Regions from separate parts of the Homo sapiens genome. Here regions 1, 2, 3, 4, 6 and 7 are each linked to region 5. The links are contacts of gene promoters, found by promoter capture Hi-C in blood cells and fetal thymus (Javierre and others, 2016). All regions are on one chromosome and are shown on one strand. Each heading gives the region's core, a stretch centred on a gene start or on the middle of the fragment in contact. The rest is flanking DNA. Distances are from core to core; before and after follow the strand shown. Region 1 overlaps NME7 (NME/NM23 family member 7). Region 2 holds the start of LINC00970 (long intergenic non-protein coding RNA 970). Region 3 overlaps NME7 (NME/NM23 family member 7). Region 4 overlaps ATP1B1 (ATPase Na+/K+ transporting subunit beta 1). Region 5 holds the start of DPT (dermatopontin). Region 6 overlaps NME7 (NME/NM23 family member 7). Region 7 overlaps NME7 (NME/NM23 family member 7).

What was found. Contacts are between HindIII fragments. The CHiCAGO score rates a contact against its expected background, and 5 or more counts as called.
Region 1: a fragment that was not itself captured here is called in contact with the fragment with the promoter of DPT in region 5 in 1 of 17 cell types (naive CD8 T cells); the score reaches 5.6 in naive CD8 T cells.
Region 2: a contact is called between the fragment with the promoter of LINC00970 here and the fragment with the promoter of DPT in region 5, in 1 of 17 cell types (M2 macrophages). The highest score is 6.7, in M2 macrophages.
Region 3: a contact is called between a fragment that was not itself captured here and the fragment with the promoter of DPT in region 5, in 1 of 17 cell types (M2 macrophages). The highest score is 5.0, in M2 macrophages.
Region 4: a fragment that was not itself captured here is called in contact with the fragment with the promoter of DPT in region 5 in 3 of 17 cell types (M2 macrophages, M0 macrophages and M1 macrophages); the score reaches 9.6 in M2 macrophages.
Region 6: a fragment that was not itself captured here is called in contact with the fragment with the promoter of DPT in region 5 in 1 of 17 cell types (M2 macrophages); the score reaches 5.3 in M2 macrophages.
Region 7: a fragment that was not itself captured here is called in contact with the fragment with the promoter of DPT in region 5 in 1 of 17 cell types (M2 macrophages); the score reaches 6.2 in M2 macrophages.

What each region holds. Positions count from the first base shown.
Region 1 is chr1:169,219,437-169,223,632 of GRCh38, reverse strand. The region is part of intron 10 of NME7 (NME/NM23 family member 7); the gene reads left to right. Among named protein-coding and RNA genes, the nearest start is that of ATP1B1, 110 kb to the right of the region's middle. The HindIII fragment of the contact is 1,974 bases long and covers 1,393-3,366 here.
Region 2 is chr1:169,084,803-169,088,658 of GRCh38, reverse strand. LINC00970 (long intergenic non-protein coding RNA 970) reads left to right here and starts at 1,654. Exons shown (of 5, transcript NR_104091.1): 1 at 1,654-1,704. The HindIII fragment of the contact is 14,978 bases long and covers 1-3,856 here.
Region 3 is chr1:169,158,071-169,162,114 of GRCh38, reverse strand. The region is part of intron 11 of NME7 (NME/NM23 family member 7); the gene reads left to right. Among named protein-coding and RNA genes, the nearest start is that of ATP1B1, 53 kb to the right of the region's middle. RefSeq lists an enhancer at 71-330. The HindIII fragment of the contact is 836 bases long and covers 2,145-2,980 here.
Region 4 is chr1:169,118,691-169,122,430 of GRCh38, reverse strand. All of the region lies in intron 2 of ATP1B1 (ATPase Na+/K+ transporting subunit beta 1), which reads right to left. Among named protein-coding and RNA genes, the nearest start is that of ATP1B1, 14 kb to the right of the region's middle. The HindIII fragment of the contact is 4,833 bases long and covers 1-3,740 here.
Region 5 is chr1:168,726,710-168,730,516 of GRCh38, reverse strand. It overlaps DPT (dermatopontin), which reads left to right and starts at 1,311. Exons shown (of 4, transcript NM_001937.5): 1 at 1,311-1,647. The coding sequence starts at 1,343. The HindIII fragment of the contact is 3,243 bases long and covers 1-1,949 here.
Region 6 is chr1:169,176,710-169,180,527 of GRCh38, reverse strand. The region is part of intron 10 of NME7 (NME/NM23 family member 7); the gene reads left to right. Among named protein-coding and RNA genes, the nearest start is that of ATP1B1, 72 kb to the right of the region's middle. The HindIII fragment of the contact is 3,651 bases long and covers 1-3,110 here.
Region 7 is chr1:169,139,296-169,143,409 of GRCh38, reverse strand. All of the region lies in intron 11 of NME7 (NME/NM23 family member 7), which reads left to right. Among named protein-coding and RNA genes, the nearest start is that of ATP1B1, 35 kb to the right of the region's middle. The HindIII fragment of the contact is 2,342 bases long and covers 483-2,824 here.

The DNA of each region.
Region 1 (4,196 bases), core at 1,130-3,629, 490 kb before region 5:
TACAATATGATCTTGGAAAATCTTTTTATGCCAAAGTAATGGTGACATATCAATAGGACACAGAAGCCAGCTTGAAGGGGTTCCACTAGTTGAATCGAAACCAATTTGAGCATCTAAGTAAATCATGATAGCAACACGTTATAATCTATTCATTGTTACTAAAATAGGAAACCAAGACTTTAGACAAATAGTAATTAATTAATCAAAATTTTGTTTAAAATGGGATATATATAGTTTCAAAATCCCTTCCCACAAAATATTTATTAATTAAAAAAAAACCCTTAACATTATAGTTAATAATGTTAACATAGGCTGGCAGACAATAAGAAATATTAAAAAAATGTAGTGATAAAAGTGAATATCATAGATTGGAGGAAAATTAAATCATATACCACAAGATAGGATGAAATAAAAAGAATGTAACATTATTTCTGTGATATTCCTGCCAAATATTTATAACTGAATTCAATTATACAGAAATATGACATGCCCATGGCCTCTAATCTTTAGAAATATAAAGGTCACAAAGTTGAATAAAGACTGAGGAACTGTTCAGGACTGAAAAACACTGAAGAGACATGATATCTAAATGCAGCATGTGATTCCAAGTCAGGATACTTTGGCCATAAATGACATTATTGAGATAATTAGTGAAACCTCACCAGGGTCTAAGTATGAAGACTGTATTGTGGTTATATAGGAGGCTGTAGTTGTTGGTAAGAAATATAAACTAAAATATTTGGAGGTAGTGGAGCATCAGATTAGCAACTTATTTTTGAACGATTCATAGCAAAAACAAATTATCTGTAGTCTATTAGTAACTTTTCTATAAATTTACAGTTCTTTCAAAATAAAACTTAAAATGTCAAGTTTTTACAACTCAAAAATAAGTAAATAAATAAAATGTCATTGTCTGTGAAGTCAAGGCCAGCTCCACTGAAAATGTGAAAGAAATAGATTATATTGTTTAGCTCCTTCCTCTCCTCGCCATAGTCCTGAGGTCTCAGCCCGGGGTTCCTCTATTGTCTTAACAGAACAAAGTCTCTAAGCAGGTCTGGTCAATTTGGTCACACTGAGACACAAATTACTATTCAGAATCAATATATTACCATTTCCTTGGGGTTTTTTCCTTTTCCTTTACTTTTTAAACAGATTTCATTATTTTTATTTTAAAAGAAAATTTCAACTTTGGAATTTTAGTTTCCAGGAAGCTAAGAAAAGCTGACTTACAGGACTTCATAGTTGCCCTTCAATCATTCATGCATTCATAAATGTTTGAGTGCCTACTGTGTGCCAGGCAGTATTCTAGGCACCAAGGATACACCAGTGAACAAAACAAATGAGAAAGTGAGAGAGACAGAGAGATAAAATCTCCTCACAGGGCACCAAGCTTACATTCTAGTTGGAGACAGATAATAAACAAATAAAAAATAGAATACATAGTATTTCATATGATGGAAAATGAAGAAAGGAAGCAACCTGAGTTAAGGAAGTGTAGATAGGATTTGATTATAAGTTGGAGTCATCAGAGAAGGGCTCACTAAGAAAGTGATATTTAAGAAAACATTTAGCTAGGGACAGTGGCTCATGCTTGTAATCCCAGCACTTTGGAAGGTTGAGGTGGGAGGATTGTTTGAGGGCAGGAGTTCAAGACTAGCCTGGTCAATATAGCAAGACCCTGTCTCTATTTAAAAACAAACAAACAAACAAAAATAAAACAAACAAACAACAACAACAGACCAGACTGGGCAACAAGGTAAAACCTCATCTCTACAAAAAATACAAAAGTTGCCAGGCATGGTGGCACATGCCTGTAATAGGTTAAGGCTGCAGTGAGCCATGATCGCACCACTGCACTCCAGCCTGACTGACAGAGTGAGACTCTGTCTCAAAAAAATTTGGGTGTGTGCACATGTGTGTTCAAGTTTATGTGTATATAAATATATATAAATATATTTATATATTCTACTGGCACATATACTACCTGGCACACAGTATATAGGTATACAAATATATTTCCATATATTTGTATGCATATAAAGACTTGAATATGTATAAATATATGTAAACATATATACATATAAAGCTCTTGAAAAAGCCAGCCATGCTGATTTCTCAGTGAAGAGCATCCTAGGCAGAAGGAACAGCCAGTGCAAAGGCCTTGGGAGAGGAGCTTGCTTGAGGTAATCTAGAAACACCATGTAATGAGCAAGGTAGAAGATAAGGTCAGAGAGATGAGGGACAGGGCAGATCTCATAGGTCCTCATAATGACTTTAGCTTTTACTCTAACTGGGACCATAAGTTATTGAAGAGTTTGGAGAGAAGAGTGACATAATTTGATTTTAAAAGAATCATTGTTACTAGTGTATTGAGAATAGTCTAAAGACAAGAGTGGAAGTTATAATCCAGGTACAAGATGATGGTGAGTTGGACCAGGATGGTGGTAATAGACATGGTGAGAAATAGTCGGGTGTTATTTACCATGTGTTTACCTTTTTTCTCTTTATCTTAAGTGGATGAGTAGATGAAGGTTAAATTGATGAAATAGAAAAAGGGAAATGGAAGAATCCTTAGTTCTACGGAGTAGAAATGGAATAAAACAGAGTTCTCTCTACTCTATTATGATTTTATCTCACTCTATTGATGAGAAAATGGAAGGTGAATTCATATTCCTGCCTGTCAATTTAGTACATAACAACGCTTAGAGAAGGCATTTATACCTAACCAGAGATAACAGGCATATCCACAGATTAACATGTGCCAAGCATTTCTATTACTAGTTTATAGTAAAAGAAACATTTTTCTTAGGTAATCAACTTAATTTATTTTATAAGCATTTTGTTAACTTTAGCAAATGTAAAAATAATTTAAAAATACATTTTCAGGAAAGTATTAAGTGGTTTAAATGCATTTTAACATAAGAAAATTGAAAGTAATCCAAGTACAGTGAGTATATATAAAAAAAGTTATGTGTTAGTAATTTATTTTCTTTGAAGTGATTTGCATGCAATAACTTGTAATACCTATTAAGTGATTCAGTGATTACAAAATAATCCTGGAGAAAATGATCATGTGTTTAATGAAGAAACATTTGTCTAACCGAGAAAAAGAAAGAAAACCCTCATCTCAATGTCGTATATTAGTTGGATGACCAACACCGTTCCCAATTTGGCCAGGACTGTCACAGGTTTCACACTGAAAGACCAGCATCCTGAGAAATCCCCCAATCCCAGGAAAAGTGGGATGGTTAATCACTCTAAATAATTTACCTTTTAATTGTATACCTCTTAAAATTGAACTGTAATAAAGTTTATTTATATTCACTTATAATTTTTAAATAGATGTTATATTAAGTTATAAAAGCTTAGAAGTACAGTTAAACTACTTCCACCCACATCCACAAAAGGTCAATTAGATTTATTTTTTAATTAACTTTTCATTTGCTTTATAAGTTATCCTTTCATTGGAATTATTTACAGGTAGAGGTATTAAGTACAGGCCCACTTCTCAAAACAACATATGGGTTGAAAGCTAAAGTATAGAGGTTGGGGAAAACATGCGTAACTGAAATGTAAGTCCGTGTTCAAACTCATGATTTGTGAAAATCTTTCATGAAGGAGGCAAACCAAAATGATAAAAAAATGAGGAAAAAGCTGTCTTGGAAGGTCTCCTTAGCCTTCCTTCCATCAAGTTTCTGTAGCTTCTTCATCATATAAGGTATATTGGAACGCATTTCAGAATAGGAGATTTAGAGTAAATATTTATTTATTTCAACTGTCATTATCTATTCATAAATTCAGGCATTTATTAAACACTTGCTATGAACCTGATATCATGTTTATTTATTGGGGATTCAAAGAGGAGTTGAGACCCTTAAGAAGCTCTCAGTATACTGGGAGAATCAGACAAATAAATTGCAATAATGTATTGTAGGCTGGGTACAGTGACACATACCTATAGTCCCAGCTACTTTAGATGCTGAGGTGTAAGGATCACTTGAGCTCAGGAGCTCGAGACTAGCCTGGGCAACACAGTGAGATCCTATCTCAAGTCATAATAATTATAAGATATGATAAAGGTTATCTTAGTGAGAAGTACAGAATGCTCAGGAAATACAGCCATCCTCTGGTATCTTGGGGGCTTGGTTCCAGTACCCCCTCAGACACCAAAATCTGCGCATAGTTAAGTCCCTTAT
Region 2 (3,856 bases), core at 405-2,904, 360 kb before region 5:
ATTTTCTGGCAAGTGCCCTGCATTTTCATTTTGCACTGGACTCTGCAAATTATGTAGCAGGTCCCGACTCCCTGTCTGTGTTTGAGCATTTTCTCTCTCCCTTTCACATCCTCCAATCCGGCTTTCCAAAGGCAGAGACATCACATACACTCATCTTAGTGGGACCTGAAACATCTGCCAGGCCTTTAGAATAAACTAGTAAGTGAAGTATTCAAAATAAATGGATATTCATACATACTGGCAAACTAATGGAATGGAATGATCATGCATAAATCATTGACTGGTGCCAGCCACTGAGCTATGGGTTTATATACTAATTTTGTTTAACTGCCACCTCAAACCTGTGAGAGAGTGCTATTATTCTGATTTTACAAATGGGAGAAGGGAGGCTCAGGAAGGTCAGTAAGTGGCAGAGCTCACACACTGAGTTCTGATGTGTCTGAGTCCAAAGCCCATTCCCATTTCACTGCATTCCTAACTGAGGCCTGGAAAACTTACCCCTGAGATCACAGCATTGCCTGAGAGGAAAAAGGACTTTTCCTATGGTTTTCACACTTTCACTTTTTGCACTGGATCTTTCAGTTGTCTGGTTAACAACTAGGTTACGTCATTCTATATGGGGCTTTCAGATACAGAGCAACTTTCCCAGGACCACCCATTAAACTAGAAGTGAAGTGATATCGTTGTTCTCACTATGATGGTAGGGTGAAGGAAGCAGATTGGCCATGCCAAAACTGATGTCCTCTGAGATCCCGAGGCCCAAGCCAACATTTGACGGCATACCTCACTCAACAACACTTTTACCTGTGTAATAGAAAACAACAGCCATTTATAACTCGCTTATTCATTTTTTTTTTCCACAGGCCTCTGCGCAGCATCTGCTATGTGCAGGCACTGTGCTAGGCCCTGTGGAGACAATAATGAAAAAGATATAGCCCCTGCTTTTCAGATGGTCACAAATTGGCAGAAGGGTGCAAACTCATAACTCTCTTTATTCCAACATTTTGCCAGCTCTGGTTGTAAAGTTGAGGAGTTAGGAGTTGGAGTAAATTTAGGAAATGGGTAGAATATTATTTTTGCAGCTCATTGGAATTCTCCCTTGTTACAGATCAGGGTCCTGGGTTGGGTGGCATACCTATGCCTGTCATTATTTGCATCCCTGGTTTAACAGCTGGCTCTGGCCAATCTTATACGATCCTCTACCTTAGCAAACAGAAACACAGTTTTTGAAAATTCACATGAAGAAGAGTTGAATAGCAAATAAGTTCAGCCTTGAGGCTCCACCTATTACCTGGCTGTTGAGCTTTGTAAAACCATTGATTGTTTAACAGCCAGCAGGGCAAGAAGGCCAGAATTATGCTCAGCAAATGCAGAAACAGAGCACAGTTGTCTGTGTGTGTTTCCATGGTAACAGTGATAACAGCTTATATTTATAGACTCTCTATCTCCAAGGAGCTCAAAGCACTTTACAAACACATCATCTCTCTTCTATAGGAAAAAGAGAGAAGGAGAGAGAGGGGGATAGGAAGAGAGGTAGAGAGAGAGAAAGAAAGGGAGAGAGGGAGGGAGGAGGAAGGGAGAGAGGGAAGCAGGGAGGGAGAGAGAACAGGAGAAGAAGGAGGAGGTACAGAAGGACTTGGTGTGCTATTATGCACATTTCACAGATGGCACAGAGTGGGGAAGTCAGTGACCCAAGGTGGCAAGGTAAGCCAGTGACAGATGGTAGATTGGATGGACCTAGTGGCTCATATAACTCCTGGAACTTTTGCTGCTGGCCTTGAGCAGATGTCAGGGCTGAGCTGCTGTCTCCTAGTCATCTTGCTCTGTTCAGTGTCATCTAGGTGATCAGATAACTCCGGGGACATCAAAAGCAGTTTGGCTCAGTATTGTTGGTGGGAAACACAGGGAAAATTCTTCCATGGGGAGTTGGGGATAATGTCCAAAGTCCTTATAGCCAGACAGCCACCAGGCAATCCCAGACTGTGTTCCGAGGGATGACAGGCTCAGCTGTGCTGCACACTCATACTGAGGCTCTGCGCACATTGATGGAAATGGTTTTCTTCAAATAGAGCCCATTTCACAGTTTCTGAAGGACCTTTGGAGGAAATGCCTTTTGGGTACTTCTTTCTGAGACAACTATTAGACATGTGATGTGACTTGGAGTTATCTGAAGGCTGTAGCCTATGAAATTGAAAATGAGTTTTGTAAATCTCAGATCTACTATTTTCTGTATAAAATTCTTGTATGAATAGAGCCATGTCCTCTGGTGGAGGCCTGAACTCTTGGAGTGGGTTAGCATGAATCTCAAGCTCTTGAGTCCTGGAGCAGCCTGTCCCCATTCTTCTTTAGCCAGAGTTGGCCTTGGTCCCCACTTCTTACCCTCACAGGCCTTCTGTTTTCCCCCTCACTGCCACCTCACTCCACATTTAGCCTTTGGAAAATAGCAACTATTTTCTCTTCTAAAAAAGAGTCATTTTCTGCAGAGCATTCAGTCAATCCAGCCAGCAGTCCCCATGGCAACACTGAGATAAGATCCTTCCTCCCGCAGGTCTTCAGTGGTCTTGATAAACAGATCCCACCGGTTCCTGCAGCCCATGACCTCAGGCTGAAGCCAAAGATGAGCTTCTTGCCTGTTTAGGCTTCAGGGATGCTGGACTGAAGGGCTGATAGTTTGAGTAGCTGAGTCCCAGCAAAGTTTAAATGCTTTACAAATAGGCTTCTGACCCCCAAAGCAAAAATAAATTAAGCAAAGAACTTCCTGAAGGAGGAGGAGCAGTTGTTGGAGGGCCTTCTGGTTTCTGCACCATCTTAGTAGTTGACCTACATCCACCAGCGCCTGGAGGCTCACCCACCCAGGGGGAGTGAGTGGGCTCTTCCTCTGACCCTCTCAGGGTGGGCTGCACTCAGACTGAAGTTCTTTCTCTTCCTTCAAGATGCCAAGCTCCCTCTTACCTCCTGGCCTTGAGCTCCAAGCAGGAAGGAGCCCCAACCCCTGGTTTTGTGCCTGGTGCATACTCAGAATTTGTAAAGGAATGAACTCCTTTTGGCTGTTCCCTCCCTCCCTTAATCTTCACACCTTTTTCTTGGCCTTCCCAGTCCTCCTCCTTAAGGTCCCTCTTAGACACTCTGAAATTCCATCTCTCCCACTTCTTCCTATATAGTATTTTATCTTTCCCTCATTACAGCACTTATCACACACTATGGCAATTGCTTATTTTGATAGGAGTTTCTGGATGTCACTGAAACTGGCTTTTGGAGGTTTGTTGGAAACAGCATTTAAAGGTTTACTTCTGAATTAAAAATTAATATTCTGATTATTAAAGTTAGGATTAAAAACATAGTTTATTTGGGTTCAACTTATATGTGTAATTATTTTATTTTATATTTTTCCCAACTTTTAAGTTCAGGGGTACATGTACAGGTTTGTTACTATTTTATTTTTTAGTCTAGCAGAGTTTAGCAATCACTTCTAAAGGGCCTATGAATAAAGTTAATTACTTTCAAATAGTTTAAGCTATGATTATTAGTTATAATCGCCATCTCTTTCTTTTCCTATATGCATTTGTCTGTATTAACAAACTAAACTTTTTGGAGGACTTTAATACTCATATACATTTAAGCTCTTAAATGTATAAATATAGGATCCTAAGGTTCTCTTGTATGTTCCAGTAAACTTAAGAACTCAAAACCATAAAATTTCACATCAATTACTCAATTGTATTTTAAATGGGCCTTACAAGGCTATCATTCTAATAGGTCTGATTCTATTAAAAATTGCAAATACACAAAATAGCAACTATACACAATTTTATTCTTTAATACAAAATTATCAATACTATGGTTTGGGTCTCTCAAA
Region 3 (4,044 bases), core at 1,313-3,812, 430 kb before region 5:
ACTGCTGACTGACTGGGGATGAAATCATAGAGATGTAGAAAACGGTCCTCTTGTGCTGAGTCTACCTCTGGGTGGGGCCACAGGATCAGTTGAGTCATAAGTCAGGGTCAAGGTGAGGTCCATCGGTTGCCGGAATGCATATCTAAAAAAAACATCTCAAAAGACCAATCTTAGGTTTTACGATAGTGATGTTACCTATGGGATCAATTGGGGAGATCACAAATCTTGTGACCTCTGGACCACATGACCCCTGAGCAGTAAAGCATTATAGAACCTAGGTCTACATTTTAGCAGCATTCAGGCCCCTCCCATAATATTAATATTGTGGCTTTTCATTAGTTTTACAAAGACAGTTTTCAGTTCCCTAGCCAGGAAGGGGTTAGTTCTTGTTTTCAGGTTAAACTATAGACTAAGTTCCTCTCATGGTGAGCTTGGCTGACACCCAGGAATGAGTGAAGACAGCCAGTCTGTGAGGCCAGAAGCAAGATGGAGTCAGCTATGCTAGACTCCTCTCACTGTCATAATCTTTGCAAAGTCAGTTTCATAAGTAGTTGATCAAATCTGAATTTGGATACATAATTACTTCTGCATGGATTCTTATTCTGGTACACTCTGGGGGAAAAAATAGTGAATCAAGGATTAATCAGAAATAAACATAGGTGCATGGTGACTAAGATGATTGGACAGGCCCCAATTTCTTGGCCGTGATTAACGCAGGCCTCTGCACATACTGACACTCATAATTTATCTTTAGTTTTAGCTTCTATCTTGAAAGAAGAAGAGTTGTGATTTTTAGTAGTACATTGTCAAAGAGGGAACAACTTGTACAAATACAAAAGCAAACAGCTTTCTCTTAGAGATCTAAAAATAGTGCAGTAAGACTGGGGCTTTGACCAGGAGGTAGAAAATGGCAAGAGATAAAGCTGGAAACATCAGCAGGGGCCTCGTAAAGTCATATTAAGACAACTGAACTTCATCTTGAGGCCATTAGGGATCCAAATAAATGTTTTACTCAGGGGAATAGCACAATGATACCTGTGTTATAGAGGTCACTCTGGCTGCAGTATAGAGAACAGATGAAAGGGCCCTGGGGTCAGGCAGGGAAACAAGTGGGTGGAGTCTAGGGGGACAGAGACTAGGTAGAAGTCTATTAAGTAATTCAGGAGAAAATTCTGGTTTCCTGAATTGCTATGGCAGAAGGGATAGCCAGAAGCAGTGAGCTTCAAAAGACATTTAGTGGGGTAGAACAGAAAGCCTCAGAGACTAATTGGATGTGAAAGGTAGCCTGTGGGAATGAATCCAGATTAATGCCTATCCCCAAGCAAACGTGATAGTACCATCTTTATCTGTGTTACCAAAATCTAATAATCTAAAAATGTCTGAAAACCAAAGTTTTTTCATAAGTTTAATGGTAAAACCTAACCTGTCTTATATCAAGTTGTGTATCATTAAACAGTTTTGTTTCAGTAGCTTGACAAAACATTTAATGTATATCATTTTTATTTAACCTATTTAGTGTGACTCTTCACACTGCTGTAAAAATATTAATGTATTTGATGATGAGTGACTTCCCAGACCCCTTGGAGTATTATATAATATATACTATATATTCCAGATTATTATTGTAAATTCCAAAACATCTAGTACCAGGAGTCTTGAATAAGAGATAGTAGACAAAGTTTGAAGTGGCCATGGAGAAAGTGCTGATGACAGAATATATATTTATGGGTTGTATTTACAATTCAGTTGATTTAGGAGATTACATGTATTATGGTGTTATTATTTTCTGGTGAACAGTTTGGCCCAGGGGTGAGGTTTTTACAGGAGGGTACGATGAGGAAAGATAATTGAGGATGTTAGCAACTATAGTTGAAGTTATAAACAAGGAAAGATGTGATGGCAGGAGGTGCTTGAAGAAAGGGATAAAGTAGATGGGCCAAGGGACCGAATGCTTTTCTAAGGTACCTACAGAGACCCCAGGAATAACAGGGAAAGAGCTGTGTCACTGTACACTTCAGAAGTGGAGCTTTCCATGGTAATGGATGATATGATTCAGGGTGTGGCCATGGAAGGAGGTAGCCAGTGTGGAGTGGAGATCAGTATCAGTCACTAGAGATATGTAAGTCTAGGAACTGAGAGAAGCTTTCATGTTGAGTGGCATTGAAATCACCTAGGATCATGGTTAGGAGGTAGGGTGGAGAAGAAAATGGTGACTCAAATTCTGAAGTCTTTCACAAACTAGGGAAGTTTGTGAACCAAAGGTGTGACAGCAACAAGGAGAAAAGATCTAGCCAGATGGCATAAGCCTCAAAAAGTCAGGAGTTCATATATAAGGGGAGGAGGTCTTAAAGTAGCACTGGGACAAAGGATAGAACTACTCCTACCCTCCTGGCCAGAGATTCTTATCCTGCGGACTCCAAGGAATTGATGCCCTTAGGGGATATCCAAGTTTCATTTAAGGCTAAGAGGCCTATGAAGAGATTCAAGTTTCAAGGGAGTTTACAATGGCACTGAAGTTCTGCAGAAAGCAATAGGAATAGTTAGAGATTGGGGAAGGGAAGAAGAATCTCAGAGCCATGTGAGAATAGCAGGATCGGAGAAAAGAGGTGAATATAATGGCCTCCATGTTGGTGGGTTGGGGTGTGACAAATTAATAATTAATTTTCTGGTCACTAGTAAATAGAGACCTTAAAATCATCTTTAAAAATGAGAACTTTTATTTTTCCGCCCCATAATTTGAGATCTGAAGGTAGGCATGTGGGACTGGTATGGCAACTCCGTAATACCATCAGTCACCCAGTCTCCTCCTCCTTGGTACCGTCATCATCTTTAGTATGTGCTTTTTGCCTTGTTGCCACAGAATGGTTGTCAGAACTCGAGTTATCACTTCTTTTTTCCAGGCATAAAGAAAGAAGAGTGAGGGCAAAAGGCGAAGAATGCCAGCTGAGCTAACACTTCCTCCCTCGCCCACCTTTAAGCTTTTCCAAAAACCAGAGCCCTCACCCAACAGCTTCAGGTTATGATTTTTGTTGTTGCTGGGATTTAGTACTGTGGCCGCCCCTTTTTAGAAAGGAAGTGAGTAAATGTAGTTCTGTTACTTGGGAACATTGCTCCCACTAGCAAAAATCAAGATACTGTTAGAAGGAAGAAAGGGAGAATGAATGTTGGAAAGGTAAAAAGCAGTATCTTCTCCAGGTGGTCAAGAGGCATTTAGCTAGTAAACAGGCTTCCAATGGAACTGGCCCTAGCTAATCCCTAGTGCAGTGGTTCTTATGTGTCCTCCCCTGCTCCAGAACAGCTGCATCACCTGAGAACTTAGGGGAAATGAAATTCTCGGGGTCCACTGTAGGCCAGCTGCTTAGCAACTCGGGGATTTGACCCAGGAATCTGTGCTTTAACAAGCCCTCCAGGTGCTTCTGATGCCCATGAAATTTGAGAACTACCGTCCTAGTGCAGCGGTTCCCAATCAATGGCATGCATTAAAATCACCTATAGAGTTTTTTTTAACTATGTAAGCCTAGAGCCCTATTATAGAAGATTCTGGTTAAGGAGGTCTGGTATGAGCTCCTTATATCTATAGAGTAGAGCCCCGTTATTCATGGTTTCACTTTCCACAGCTTCAGTTACCCATGGTCAACCATGGCCCAAAAATATAAAATGGAAAATTCCAGAAATAAACAATTTATAAGTTTTAAATTGTATGGTACCTTAAAGAGCAGGGTTGCAAAAATTAAAAAATAAAAAGTTTTAAATTGTATGCCGTTCTGAGTAGTATGAGGAAATATTACAGTATATTGTTATAATTATGCTATTTTATTGTTAATCTCTTACTGTGCCTAATTTATAAATTAAACTTTATCTCTCATACATATGGAAAAACGTAGTATAGATAGAGTTCGGTACTATCCACAGTTTCAGGCATCCACTGGGGGAACTGGAACATATTCCCCACTTATAAGGGGGCACTACTGTATTTTATGTTGCAGGTGATTCTGATATTCTGATATGGCTGATAGTTAAACTAGCATTTAGAAACCACTGTCC
Region 4 (3,740 bases), core at 1,165-3,664, 390 kb before region 5:
ACAGATAGTTAATGCTTGAGACAGCAATGGTAAACAGAGTTACCCAGTGAAATGGGGAAGTCGGGTAGGGAGGGTCACTCCTGGTTTAAGTTGTAAATAAGACACTTAAGTCAAGGTGACTTGCCTGGACCTGGGGGAAGTACACCAGCAGACCCAAAGCCAGAGGCTCAACAAAATTCAGAATGGGAGAATCCTGGAGTCAAGAGAGAATGGAGCCTTGAGGGACGGTCATGCTGAGGGGCCACCCGAAGAGCCAGTGCATAGGCAGCCAGAGAGAGAGACAAATGCCTGTGCATCGCTCAGGCAGGAGGTCTGCAGGAACCTCCTCCAAGTATTCTGTGTGATGTTTGGGAGTCAGGAACAGAAATGGACTTATGTACACAAGGTTAAACAGTGTTTCCAGGCTTGGGAAAGACAAGGCAGGAGGGTGGTGGATGGCTAGACAAGTGAAGGAGAGCAAATGTCAGAAACCAAGGAGGGATCTCATCTGACCTTCAGGGAAGGTCAGGGGAAGACCCACAGCCAGGGGACCATAGGGACATTGGTGTGATAAACAACAATTATGCAAGCTGTGGTCCATCAGCAGAGGGCGGGATGCAGCAAAAGCCAAAATATAAACAAGCCTGATACTGAGATTTGGAGAGTCTCACCTAACAAGCTGAAAGGAGGAGTGACCCTAGAAGGTCATGTTGAGAGTAAACATGGTAAAACCTGGATTGCGAAGCAAGTGTCACAAACATCCTTGTTCTCCCTGGCCTGGCTTCAGTGAGCCTCTCCAGTGGTTTGCCTCTCACTTTCTGGCTGCTTGCATTCTCTCTTCCAGTGGCTGCTCAAGGTTCCATTACTTTGATATGAGTATGAGGAATAGTGATGCCATTTCTCAGATTCTCCCACACAAAAAAAAGGAGAGTAAGAACAGGAGGAGGTATTATGCTGAGCGCTTTTCATTCCTTCACAATGTCAAGTCCACGGTTTCCACTATTAAAAGTGACCAGGGGACATGTGTCAGACTCAAAACATCAGCAACTCTCACTCAGTCCTCTGGGCTCTTTACTAACAAAATGATAAGGCTAGTGCATTCCCCAGGAGCCTAGGGGCTATGACCAAAACTAAGTTCATGTTTACTGATAGACTATGACAAATCTTTCTTGTAAGTGCCTCTGTTGTTAATCATCTAGGAATATGGCCGGGAATGGTGGCTAATGCCTGTAATCCCAGAACTTTGGGAGGATGAGTTGGGTGGATCACTTGAGGCCAGGAGTTCGAGACCAGCCTGGCCAACATGGTGAAACCCCATCTCTACTAAAAACACAAAATTAGCCAGGCATAGTAGCACATGCCTGTAATCCCAGCTACTTGGGAGGCTGAGGCACGAGAATCGCTTGAGCCCAAGAGGCAGAGGTTGCAGTGAGCTGAGACAGCACCACTGCACTCCAGCCTGGGCAACAGAGCGAGACTCTGTCTCAAAAAAAAAAAAAAAGAAAAGAAAAGAAAAAGAGAAAGAAAAAAAATATCTAAGATCACATTTGTGAAAATAATAGGTATTACTGTTACATGAAGTGGTACTACTGGCCCAGAAGAGAGTTATATACACAATTGGCCTCATGTCTCTCTAGACGGGGCAAATAAGAAATAATGAAAACCAAGTAATGGAATCACATCCCTTTCAACCTGAAAGCCCAAATTTTTCAGTAAGCATAGCTCATGATCTAAGCCAGTCAAGTTTATAATTACTTTGTGAGGGAAACATAGATGCAGGCTGCTTGAAGAATCTTGACTTTGCTCTTACAGAAGCATCAGAAACTAGTGAAACCAAGAAAGCAAGGGGTGAAACATAAGACAGCTAAGCACGGAGTCTTAGAACCCTGTGACTTGCCCAGCTGGATTAGACCCTAGGCCAAAGCCTCTGCCCTGTCCTTTCCATTTTAAGTAACAGAGAACCTTGGTAGAAGGAGCCGAGGAATGACAGATAAACCCCAGAAAGCTCAGTCATGTCTTACTGTTTTGTGAGCTCATGTTTCCCTCTGGAGTCTGAGGGGTCTTAGACGGTGGTAACTAACATAAGCCTTAATGACCATTCATTTAAGATACAGAGCTTTTGATCCAAACGTCATTTCCAGTAAAAAAACAGATGGTCTGGGTTTAGGTCATGCAATCAGCTCACACATGCTTACTACATAAACAAATGTCCAGGAGGCCACGCCACAGTCAAGTGGCCGCTGCCTCCTTAGTAGCTCTTCTGCTCTCTTTCCTCACATTTCCACAAGGTCTCTCACTCCATCACCCACTATCTCTGCCTCCTCTCTTTTCTTTATCCGAAGCCTGATGGCCTGAGAACTTCTCCTGGAAATTACCACAGATCAGCCCCCGGGTCTGTTCTGTTCTGGATAGTCTTAATTAGGACAGTTTTTGATGAGGTCTTCTCCAAAGATTAGAAAAATTCCTCTTCTCAAGTTATTTCTCTAAAGCAACTAGATACTCACAAGAGAAAGATGAAAGACCTTTGAAAGGATGTCCAAATCCTTTAAATCATTTACTTTAGGATTATCAGACTGTTAAGAAGAGATAGAAAGCAATGGGATTGGATTTGGTAATTATTACAGACAGTTCCCAACTTACAATGTTTGCCTTATGATTTTTCAGCTTCACAGTGGGTTTAGCAGGGTTAGTAAATGCATTTTTGACTCACAGTATTTTCGACTTACAATGGGTTACTAGAACATAACCCCATCCTAAATCGAAGAGCATCTGCATTTTGAGGCCACACCCAAATTCTCCAACCATGACATTCTCCAAGGGCTGCACAAATCCCACCTTGCTGACTGGAGTTCTCATGAGTCATATTTCACACTAGACCAGACGCTTTCTCCCATCATGCCCCTCTTTCTACTGCCCACTTCTTAAAGTTGTTAGTTATGACTCTGGACAAGGATGAGCTCTGTTTGCACTGGTAACTCCCAGAGGGCCAAAGACAGCAGAACACCCAATCGCTGGCACGCAATTTCAAGTTATATTCCAGGAAACAAATCTAACCTTTTCCCTCTCCAGTCTTCTAAACTTGAATTTACATTAACCACCCTGAGCTCTAGAGACAGCTTTGTTCTGATAGGATCATTTGCCTTAAGCTATATATCATTAATTAACAAAGCCACTTGAAGAGGCAGAAATCATAATCTGGGTATGTAAAATTTTAATATTTGGTTTTCAATGAGTATTTCAACTTTACATAAGATTTAGATTTAGAAAAAACTTCTGGCTTCCCACTTGCTTTTCAAAGACACATTTACCTGCCTTTGGTCCCCATCTCTTGAGAAATAAGGAAGATCCTCCATGTTTAGCTTTAGTAAGTGTTGATAGCACAAGGGGGAAAAGGCTTGAGGGAAAGGATTTTGTTTCTTTAGGTTTATAATGTAGCAAGTTCATCATTTCTCAATCTACATGTGAGTTTAAAGTATTTAAACTAGAATGTAGCCATTTCAACCTTGTAAGTTATTCAAATGCACAGCTGCTTGCACCTGTCATTTAATACATCTGATAAATCACTAGATCAAATCTCTAAATAGGAATCATTTCCCATGGAAACCTCCAGGAAGGTACCCATATGACTGAGAAGGGCACAGGAAGCAAAGAAATGCTTTTAAATGTAGCCATGCACAAATCATGTGTCTCCTATACATTCCGAGTTGAAAAGTAATTTCCAATTTTAAAAAAAATACACAGAGGTATGAATTCATACATAC
Region 5 (3,807 bases), core at 62-2,561:
CACACAAAAACCTATACATAGATGTTTATATCAACTTTATAATTACATTTATGTAATTCATTATATAAAATATAATGAATATAAAATTCATTACATAAAAAGTAATGAATTTTCAAAAACTGGAAACAACCCAAATGTCTTTCAACTAGTAAATGTATAAACAATCTGTGGTACATCCATGCTATGGAATATTACTCAACAATAACAAGAAACAAAATACTAACACATACAATGAGATGTTGAATTTTAAAATGGATGAACCTTAAAAGCATTATGCTAAGTGAAAGATGGACATGAAAGGCTACGTGTGGTATGATTCCATTTACTTGACATTCTGGAAAAGGCAAAACCATAGAGACAGAAAGTAAATCAGTGGTTACCAATGGCTGGGTGTTTGGGAAGATTTGACTGCAAAGGGATATAAGGGGATGTTTTGGATTGATGGAACTGTTCTAAGTCTTGATTAGGGTGCTGGCTATGTTACTGTACATTATGTATTTTAAAAGGTGAATTAATTATATGTAAATTATAACTCAATGAAAAGAAAATTCAATGTGAGGGCAAAAATACTGAAGGATAAATAGGGGGTTTATTTAGATTAAACCCATTACATTTTGAGAGCAGAGCACACTTTCTAGACTTGACTGGGTCCAATTTCAGCAGCATGGTAGAATGCTTAAGTGTAGAAATCATATCCAACTTATCTCCCCATGGGCCCATAGTACTTCCTTATGCAACTTATGAGTTCTCAGAGTAGCCCTGCAAACTGGTATACCCGCGCTTATACTCAAGGGTTAAAAAGTGTTGGATTGACAACTTAAAAAAAAAAACAGGCATTCAGCCTTACAGAAATCCTAGATGGCTCTGTTACTTCAGTCTATGATTTCGGTATTTTGAAATCACTGTCTGGGTATTTGTGTGGCCCGGAAGGCTAGTTTGGAGAACAAATACAGGGGTTTGCTAGTAGCGGGTAGGGTAGGACAGAAAGGGGTGAGGTGCTGAAAGGTGAGGGACAAATATGCTACTAATCAGTGTTTTTCAAGTGAATATTTCTACAGGGTAGAGCAGCAGTTGGCTTTTATAATCTAGATACAAAGTTGTTCTTTCTCCAGGGAGCTTCTTAGACTTACATGCTGCTGGTATATTCCTAGAATTCCACCTTAAAACAAGCTGAATGTCCTTATGGCTGACATCTCAGCATGGAAAAGTTTTGCTTAAGCAATGACACACTGCAGTTGGATCCTTCTCACCCACATCTGGAAGCCACATGTCAGCGGCAGCTATATAAAACGGTCAGACCAGCAATCTTAGAGTGACATTGTTTGCCAAAATCCCAGGCAGCATGGACCTCAGTCTTCTCTGGGTACTTCTGCCCCTAGTCACCATGGCCTGGGGCCAGTATGGCGATTATGGATACCCATACCAGCAGTATCATGACTACAGCGATGATGGGTGGGTGAATTTGAACCGGCAAGGCTTCAGCTACCAGTGTCCCCAGGGGCAGGTGATAGTGGCCGTGAGGAGCATCTTCAGCAAGAAGGAAGGTTCTGACAGACAATGGAACTACGCCTGCATGCCCACGCCACAGAGCCTCGGGGAACCCACGGAGTGCTGGTGGGAGGAGATCAACAGGGCTGGCATGGAATGGTAAGGGCCAGTCCCTGCACTGCACTGGGGCTGGGAACATCTCTGCATATCCCTCCTCCTGGGGGCTGCTAGACTCTCAAGGAATATCAGTAACCAAAGCCTGGGCAAATCCCACCCCAAACCTCACCACTGCATGCTCTGGGTGGAGCAGGGCTGCTGCTGAGCGGACTACATGACAGGACAAAAACCTGGGATGGGGAGTGTCTGTGGGAGACAGACTCCTCTGTGGCTCTGTTCCTTCCAGAAGCTGTTCTACCTACTCTCAGTTTGGGCCAGGGGCTGGTGTAGGTCGGCGAGAAGCTTGCTTACCAGACTACCAAAAGATATGTACAGAAACTGAAAGTAATAAACTTTATAGAAATTAAAACTTTCTGTGCCATCGGAATGGCATTTTTCTTTTTTAGAAATTTATTTTTACCATTTTACAAAAGTACTGGCCCACAGTAGTTTGGGAACAAGAAAAATAAACAATTGATCTCTCAGCACGGAGGGTTTGAGAACTATTGATTTAGAGCAAGTGAATGGAAAAGAGGGGACAAGGACATTTAGGCAAAAGAAAGTGGAATTAAATAGCTGTCTACTGCCTTGATTAAATGTGCTCTCTCAATTATGAGTACTGAGGTCCTTCTCTCTGCCTGAATTTAAAGTGGGTTTTATTGCTGGAAAATAGTTTACTAAAGGGTTTTGGAGAGAGGTGCTGTCTTCCCCTGACTGCATTCTGCCTTAAGCAGTGGCATGGAATTTTTTCGAGCTTGTACTTTTTTGTGGGGTGTGATTGTCTCAGCTGGGTCTCAGCCCAGGTGCTTGGTCAGGAGCTCATCCTAGTAGGCACTGACTGCTAGGCTGATTATTTACAACAGCCTAGATGGAGCCAGCACTCTAGGAGGCTTGGAGGAGAGAACGGAGGAGGCAGTCCAGGGAGGAGGAAGCCCACCTGGAGGGCTGCTGCATGTGCTATCTGTAGAGCAACCCAGATGTGTGGCAACAAGTACTTAGTGTAGTGGGGATTGGAGGGGTCAAGCACAAAATCTGGCCAGGTGTGGTGGCTCACGCCTGTAATCCCAAACACTTTGGGAGGCTGGGGAGGGAGGATCACTTGAGATCAAGAGTTCGAGACCAGCCTAGGGAACACAGCCAGACCCTATCTCTACAGAAAAAAAAAAATTAGCCCGGTGTAGTTGCATGCAGCCTGTGGTCCCAGCTACTCAGGAGGCTAAGGTAGGAGGATCACTTGAGCCCAGGGAGTCGAGGCTGCAGTGAGCCATGCTCGCACCACTGTATTCCCTCCTGGGTGGCAGAGCAAGACTCTGCCTCAAAAAAAAAAAAAAAAGAAAATAGAAAAAAGAAAAAGCATAGAACCCTGGGGGACACAACCAGTAGAGAGGTGATGATGGGAAATCCAAGAGGAAGAAACACCGATGGGTGGGGGAGCCAGGAAAGAGAGCGGGCCTTTAAGTAATGACAACAGCTACCATTTATTGAGTGCTTACCCTGAGCAGGCTCCATGCTAAGTGCTTTATGTGGATCATCTCGTGTAATGCTCAAAACAAGGGTATATCCCATTTATAGGTAGACAAACTGCAGTCTAGAGATCCAGTATTTCCTCGGCTAGAAAGCTGGGGTTTGGATCCACAGAGTCTTTGCTTCAAAGAGTTTGTACTTTGCCACAGTGACGGGCTCCTGAGAGGCTGCTGCCTCCACCCAGAGTGGGCTCCCACCCGACAGCTGACTCTGTCAGCAGAGCCAGTGCCACAGGACCAGATTCAGGGCAGTTCTTCCTCCTGGAGAGGGTGGGGACCTGCAAGACCACAGCAGAAGCCCAGCCCCAGAGGGATGATCCCTACTTGGTTACCAGGACTGTGGAGGGGCTCAGCCGGACTGTAGAAGGGGTGGGGAGAGGACTCACACAGGCAGCAGCAGGTGAGGGTGCCGGGGCTGTGGAGGCTGCTTGGACAGCCTTTGTGGGCCATTCTCATCCACCCCCATGGCCTCTGGTGAGCAGATTTAGTTATTCAAAACCCCTTCTGACAGATGCTGATTCAGAGACCAGGCTCACCTTGATTGTTGTCTCCATGACTCCTCACAGCCAGGCCCACTGCCTAATGTGGAGCATGGCAATGACCTAATTACAACTGTCCCTCCAGTCCTCACCTCTCAGGA
Region 6 (3,818 bases), core at 36-2,535, 450 kb before region 5:
CGGCAGTTTAGGAAATTAACCTTTAAAGAGAGTTTGCCCCAAGTGGTTGGATCTTTGGATATACTCTTTCTTCATTGCTGGATAGGAGGTCTGAGACTGTCCGTAGAACCAAGTTACCCATATCTGTAAAAGGCAAAAACTGTCTGCCTCGTCAGCAATTGTGCTGACAAGGGGATTTGTGGGATTCCTGTGAAATAGTACATGCTTTTAAAAACACAAGTACTATATAAGTGCCTCATTGTTAGCTATGAGTTTATTTATAATACTATGAAGACAATGATTATATCTACTAAATGCCTCCAGTTTGGCCAGACACCATTAGACATTTTATGGGCATTATCTTAATTAATTCAGCCAGATAACGCTGAAGCTAGGCCTTTAAAGGCACCAAAATCTTTCTACTAACTGCTGAGACTAATGTTGCTACTCTAGGACAAATAAACCTAAATTTTATAAAATCTCTATGTTATTTTATAAATTGGATATAACTGTACTAAGATCAGTTTGTTAGACCCATTGTTTCTTTCTTTGACTGACATGCCTTTTTTTTTTTTTCCAACTTTTATTTTAAGTTCAGGGGTAAATGTTCATGTTACATGGGTAAATGTGTTCCGTGGTGGTTTGCTGCACAGATCATCCCACCACCCAGGAATTAAATCCAGCATCCACTAGCTATTCTTCCTGATCTTCTCCCTCCTCCCACCCCTGGTCCTCTGACAGGCCCCAGTGTGTGTTGCTCCCCTCCTCCCCTCCATGTGTCCCTGTGTTTTCATCATTTAGCTCTCACTTATAAATGAGAACATGCGGGTATTTGATTTTCTATTCCTGCGTTAGTTTGCTAAGGATAATGGCCTCCAGCTCCATCCATGTTTCTGCAATGGACATGATCTTGTTCCTTTTTATGGCTGCATAGTATTCCATGGTGTATATGTACATTTTCTTTATCCAGTCTATAATTGATGGGCATTTAGGTTGATTCTATGTCTTTGCTATTGTGAATAGTGTTGCAATGAACATACAGGTGCATATGTCTTTATAATAGAACAGTTTATATTCCTTTGAGTATATACCCAGTAATGGGATTGCTGGGTCAAACGGTATTTCTGCCTCTAGGTCTTTGAGGAATCACCACACTGTCTTCCACAATGGTTGAACTAATTTACATTCCCACCAACAGTGTAAAAGCATTCCTATTTCTCTGCAACCTCACCAGCATCTGTTGTTTTTTGACTTTTTAATAATAGCCATTCTGACTGGTGTGAGATGGTATCACATTGTGGTTTTGATTTGCATTTCTCTAATGATCAGTGATGCTGAGCTTTATTTCATATGTTTTTTGGCCACATGTATTAGATCCATTATTTCTGATGGTACTTTTATAACTTCACTGCTATACAAGAGGTTTTAGGCCAGGTGCGGTGGCTCATGCCTGTAATCCCAGCACCTTGGGAGGCCGAGGTGGGCAGATTATCTGAAGTCAGGAGTTTGAGACCAGTTTGGCCAACATGGTGAAACCCCATCTCTACTAAAAATACAAAAATTAGCCGGGTGTGGTGGCACATGCCTGTAATCCCAGCTACTCAGGAGACTGAGGCAGGAGAATTGTTTCAACCCACGAGGTGGAGGTTGCAGTGAGCTGAGATTGTGCCACTGCACTCCAGCCTGGGTGACAGAGCAAGACTCTGTCTCAAAAAAAAAAAAAAAAAAGAAGAGGTTTCAGCTAGAAGTCTAATTGATTATAGGTGACTTTGGAGGGAGCAATTTCAATAGAGCAGTAAAGCTGAAAACCAGATAGCAAAAAGGTACTTACTAAGTGGGAACAGGGAAAACAGCTTTCTGTAGAGATGAGGAAGAAAGATGGAGCCTCAGAATATCACTGAGAGTTCAGCTCAAGAAACAGAAACCAGCTTAGGGATGTTTTTTAAAGGAGTTCGATTCAAGGAAGTAGCTATTTACGAACTTAAGTTTCTTAAGTGTTGCAGGGCCTTAAGTCAGGAGTTGCCACTGGAGCTATTGATTTCAAGAGTACCTTCCCATACCTAGAATCCTGAAGTTGCTGCTGCCTCCACTGCTACTACCATGGCAGTGACTTAGGCATTGAGTCTGCCACAACTCAAACACTTGTGTCTCCTACCTTGTCTGCCTGTAGCAACATTAGCAAGAAGGTAGCTTCTGCTTTGTCCTGTCTTCCAAATCTCATTTAGGACTTCCACATCGCAAGAATTCTAGCCAAAAATGTGTCTGGGGAATGTAGTTTTTAGATTTCTAATTTCCATCTAGAAGGAGGATAGAATAAAGAGTTGAGAGAGTCACTCTGTAGAATCGATCACATCTGATTTCTGTTGCTTATTGTAAGCCATTTGTAAGGCAATTATTAAGAAAGAGGAGAGGCTGGGCACGGTGGCTCACGCCTGTAATCCCAGCACTTTGGGAGGCCGAGGCGGGCAGATCCTGAGGTTAGGAGATCAAGACCATCCTGGCTAACACGGTGAAACCTCGTCTCTACTAAAAATACAAAAAAAAATTAGCTGGGTGTGGTGGCGGGCGCCTGTAGTCCTAGCTGCTCAGGAGGCTGAGGCAGGAGAATGGTGTGAACCTGGGAGGCGGAGCTTGCAGTGAGCCGCGATCACGCCACTGCACTCCAGCCTGGGCGACAGAGCTAGACTCTGTCTCAAAAAAAACAAAAAACAAAAAAAGAGAATTGCTGAGCCAAGGGAAATACTGTGTGTTTTCATGCTTGAGGTAGGAAAGAGCTTGGTGCCTTTGAAAAGTTGGAAGGGGTTGATGTGACTAGTTTGAAAAGTTGGAAGGGGTTGATGTGACTAGTTCATTTCAGGTGGGGTTGGAGAGTTAAGCAGGAGCCAGAGCATGCAGGACTATAGGTTATGTTGAGAAGTTTTTCTTTAAGAGACAGGGTCTTGCTGTGTTGGCCACGATGATCTTGAACACCTGGCCTCAAATGATCCTTCCACCTTAGCCTCCCAAAGTGCTGGGGTTATAGGGATGAGCCACCACACCCAGCCCAAGAATTTTGCATTTTCTCTTAATGAAAGCATCAGAGATTCTTCGGCAGGAAAGTGGTATGATTCAACTTATGTTTTTTTAAAGCTTATTCTAACTGCTTTTTGGACAATATGTTTACTAGGAGTAGAGGTATCTAGGAAACCAGATAGACCAGCAAGTATAAAATCTAAAAGCCCAATATTCTAGGCAGGAGAATATGGTGCTAGAGTGGATATAGAAGCCGACTGATACAGGGTATATATTAGTAGTTGTATTGACAGGATTTGCCAAGAATTGGATGTTAGAAGTGCCAAGAGTGGGTCCCAGCTATTTCATTATTTTATTCCTTTGAGGAAGTTTCTGAGCATTGAATTGTAGGATTCTTTAAAATAGTAAAGCAAGACTGGATAGTAATTATGTTATAGGGATGGAGTAGAATGTGGAACGATTCTTTTGCGGGGAGATATTAAGAATGCCTCTCTTGCTTTCAGGTCCAGGGTGTTAAAATAAAAGAATGCCTCTTAAATTTTTTAGTAGTAATGTGAGTATACATTAAAGGTTAAATGTCTTAAAATGTATTTAGAAAAAAAGAAATAGGAAAATATTTACCAAAAAACCCAATCCTCTATGCTAATGTTTATGTTCTTAAATTTTAGTTGTATATGTGAATCTTTGTAGTTTTTGCTAAAATACTAAGTAATTTATATAAAAGTGAGTTAAGAGATTTTTCTGACTCTTCTTTTTTAGTTGAGCTCATCCTTCTGAAGAATGCCCAATTCTTTTAAAAAAGAACCAAGAGATCATAATTTTTACTT
Region 7 (4,114 bases), core at 404-2,903, 410 kb before region 5:
AGTGTCAGCTGAGGAAAAAGGTAGTTGACTCCAGGCCGAGAAAATAGCACTTGCTAAAGCCCTTATGCGGGGAATTGGTTGGTGTGTTTTAGAAAAGGAAAGAAGAAATATAAAATGCAAAAAAAAAAAAAAAAAAGCCTGAGGTGACACTGGAGAAATAGAGATTGGGCCATGCAGGGCTTTGTGGGCTATTTTAAGAATATGGATCTTTATCCTCAAAACATCAGGAGGCAACCCTTGAGGGGAATGGGCGTTGACATAATCAGGTTTATAGTTTTTAAGAGGTCTCTCCAGTTACCATGTGGAAAATGGACTGAAGGGGGTCAGGTTGGGATAGATTTGTTAAATAATAGTATAACAACTGAAAATACATTGATACCATGTACTTTAATTTATGGGTTGTTATAAATTCATAAAATGTGTCTAGGCATTAGTTTCTCCATGTGGAAAATGATGAGGCTGAACTTGTAATTCTCAAAGCTTGGACTCCCCTACAAATGAGCTGAATAATTGATCCTCTGAGACCTGGAGGCAGCAGCTCCAATCCTTAACCACTTCCTGTGCCGGCTCCAGGATGCCATGCGAGAATGAGCATTTTCTAGGTGCACCATGAGGTGACAAAGATTGAGAGGCCCTCCTCTAAACCCCTTTCCTGCACTAACATTCCATGATTCTAGGTTTTGAGGAAATCAAATTCTAATCCGACACCTTGGTTTTACCATTGAGGAATGTGTTGCCCAAAGAAGGAAAATGGCTCACCTAAAATTGCATGGCTTAGTGTATAGAACATTACTCTCCTAACTAGTAATCCTGGGTTTTTCTAGTTTGCCATACTGTCTCTGTATCCTTTGTAAGCAGTATAATGAATTATTATAATTATCAAATTGCAGGTGCTTCTTTTTCTTTCCTCTATTTATGAACAGAAGTACAGTTTATTCTTTTTTGATTACCAGTTAAGAATTTATTGCTGTAAGTCATCAAGCATCGTTTTACTAAAACTTGAAGACTAGAAATGGAGAAATTAATTCCTAGGAAAACAACACATCTTATCTTATTCTGGCTTAGCTGAAAATATTGCAAGACTAGCATTTCTATTTCAAAATCAGCCCAAAGGCTGTGAGCATACAGAAGTGATGAATAGAAAGATGTTAGCTGAGCTCTTAATGACTTTTACTTGATTTGAACTTGAGTTCAAAGGTAAATCAAAAGTTTAAAGTTGAACTTGAATCTTACTATGCCATATAGGCTTTCCTTAGCCTTCTGGAAAATCTAAAGTATAAGGGAGGTCCAGGAGTATAGTGATTCTGGGCACAGACTCTGGAGTCAGGTGGTCTGAGTTCAAATCCCCAGCTTCTCCTCCTACCAACTTCATGACTTAGGAAAAATTACCTTTCTCAGACTCATTTTATCTACTTGAAGAGTAGAAATAATGACATTTCACAGTAAAAATTAAATGAAGCAATATATGAAGTAATTTTCTCTTAAATCTTAAATTACCTCAGCATATGCTTTCACAATTTCTTTCCAATTTTAAGTGACAAAGTCCATCCCAGCTATTCACTTCATTATCTCATGAATTCTGATTATGTATTCTCTCAGCTTTTATCCAATCTAAGAGCTTTTTCACTTTTCTCATCTGTCCTTATAAAAAAAAAGGCATTCCATCTTCTAAAAAATTTTTATTTCTATTTTCTAACTCTATTATTTTTGTCTTGGAGCTTTTCTAACTGAAATGTGTATGAAGTATAGCAATAGGAACTTCCCAAGAAATAAAATATTCTGTGGTTTGTTTTTCTTGTAAAGAGTACTGTAATTCCTTGGGTTTAATTGACAACATCCTTTATGAGGACACTCAGCATATCAGCATTGATGGCCTCGTAGACAGCAGTCTTGGCCCAAGTATTCAGGGAATGACGAGGACATACTCCAAGATCCTTTTCCCGAATCACTGTTTATTGTTTATAAAACTCATCTTGTAAGCCTGCTTTATTTCCTTATCAATACCCAAGGTAATCCTGTTGAAGTTTACTCTGCTTTTCTGCCCATATTCCCCACTTCATCTTTTGAGGCCTACCTGTCTCCTTGGCACATTATCCATGTTAAGTGCCTCCAAGGTACTGTGGATACTAGTAAATGCCAAATTAAGTGAGGGGTTTTATTCTTTCCCCAGATCACATATAATGATATCAGATGGGCTTGGTTTGGGCTCTGATTTCGGAGGCACCTACTTTGACTAACTATCTAGGACAGTAGTTTTCTTTTTTTTTCTTCATCCAGAAACTTTATTGTAAATCATTTGTCAACAAGATCTGCATTTCTAATTTCAGTTTGTCATTCCTCTGAGGCACAGAGAAAGGAAAAGATGAGATTAGGGTTAATGTTTATTGAGCACTATGTATAAAGGATCTTATTTAGTCCTTATAAACAATACTAGGGCAGTGGCTTTCAACCCCAGTGGACATCAGAAGTGTCTGTGAAGCTCTTTGAAAATGTGGACGTCTAGGACCTACCCAAGACCTAATGAATCAGACTCTCCAGGGTGGGGGTGTAAGCATCTACTTTTTGGTTCTTTAAAGATCCATAGGGTGATTGTGATGTACAACCAAGTTGAAAATCACCAATCTTGAGAACTGGTCTTTATATCTACAATTTCTTTTATTTGAAATCTTTTTTTTTTTTTTTTAAGGATAGACTGTTCCCTGTCAAAATCTTTTCTTCTCTGGGAGCCACAAAATGAATTTCTAAGAGGAAGTGTCAAGGTCACCTGAGTTTTTCCCCTCTGCTTGCTTGGCATTCATAACTGAGAAAACCCATCCCTGAAGCTTTACTGTAGCTGATTTGTAGCAGAGCCCATCCTGGGCTACTAGTTTCAGAGTGGGAACATGGGGCCATATGTCCTTTTTAAAAAAGTATTATTTGTATAATGTGCTACAACTTTATAAATTCACCCAGAAACTTACATGCCCACTAAATCCAATGAGGTAGGTTTTATTATCTTCAATTTTTAGATTAGGAGACAGGCTCAGAGAGTCTAAATGATTTGCCTAAGAGCACTAGGAAATAGTGGCTAGAATAAAACTCAATTCTTCCAACTCCAAATCTAGTACTCTTTCTGTTCTTTCTACTGATTAATATTTTTATCATTCCATTTTGAAATAATTTCAGACTTATAGAAAAGTTTAAAAAAATACTTTCCACAAGCCCTTTACCTATATTTGCCAAATGTTAATATTTTACCATGTTAATCATCCTTTCTTCTGTCTTTCTGTACATATGAATTTAATTATTTATAATATTTAACAGTATGTTATAGATGTAATTCCCCTTTATCTCTCAATACTTCAGTGTATATTTCCTAAAAACACTGATATTATCTACAGTCACCACAGAAAGTGATTGCGAATCAAGAAGTTAACATTAATACGATACTATTATCAAGGTACAGACCTTCATTTTTTACCCACAAATGTCTTCTGTGGCAAAAGAAGAAAAATAGTTTCTGGTTCAGGATCCAGTCAGGGATCACATATTGCATTTGGTTCTCACGTCTGTTTACTATCTTAGTTTTCAAAGTTTTCTTAGTCTGCCTCTGCTGTTCATGACTTGAATAATTATGTATGCTATCATCTGATAAGCTGGAATTGACAGTTCTGGCTGTCAGCACTTGATGGAGTTATTCAGAGATACTTGGGTTCAGTGACATACAGCAGGATGGGCCATAACATTAGGAGAATATTTGGAAACCAATAATAGTGATATTTATTATGCAATATTTATGCTGGACACTATTTTAAATGTCTTCCATATAATTCCTCATTTAAACTTCACAACAAACCTACATAGTAGGTATTGTTACATTATAGATGTGGAATCTGAGGAACAAAGAAGTTAAGTAACTTGCTCAAGGTTACCTGGCCAGGAGATGGCAGGGCTAGGAGTCAAATTCCAACAGCCAGGCTACATCCCTAGTGTGAGCTCTGAACCAGCACAGGCTGAACCAGAGACATTTAACAAAGTGATATGTCTTTAGGCAAATTATTAGCTCAAAAAACTTGAGTCTCATGAACTGAAAATGGGACTAATAATACCAATGTCATAAAGGTGGTTGTAAGGA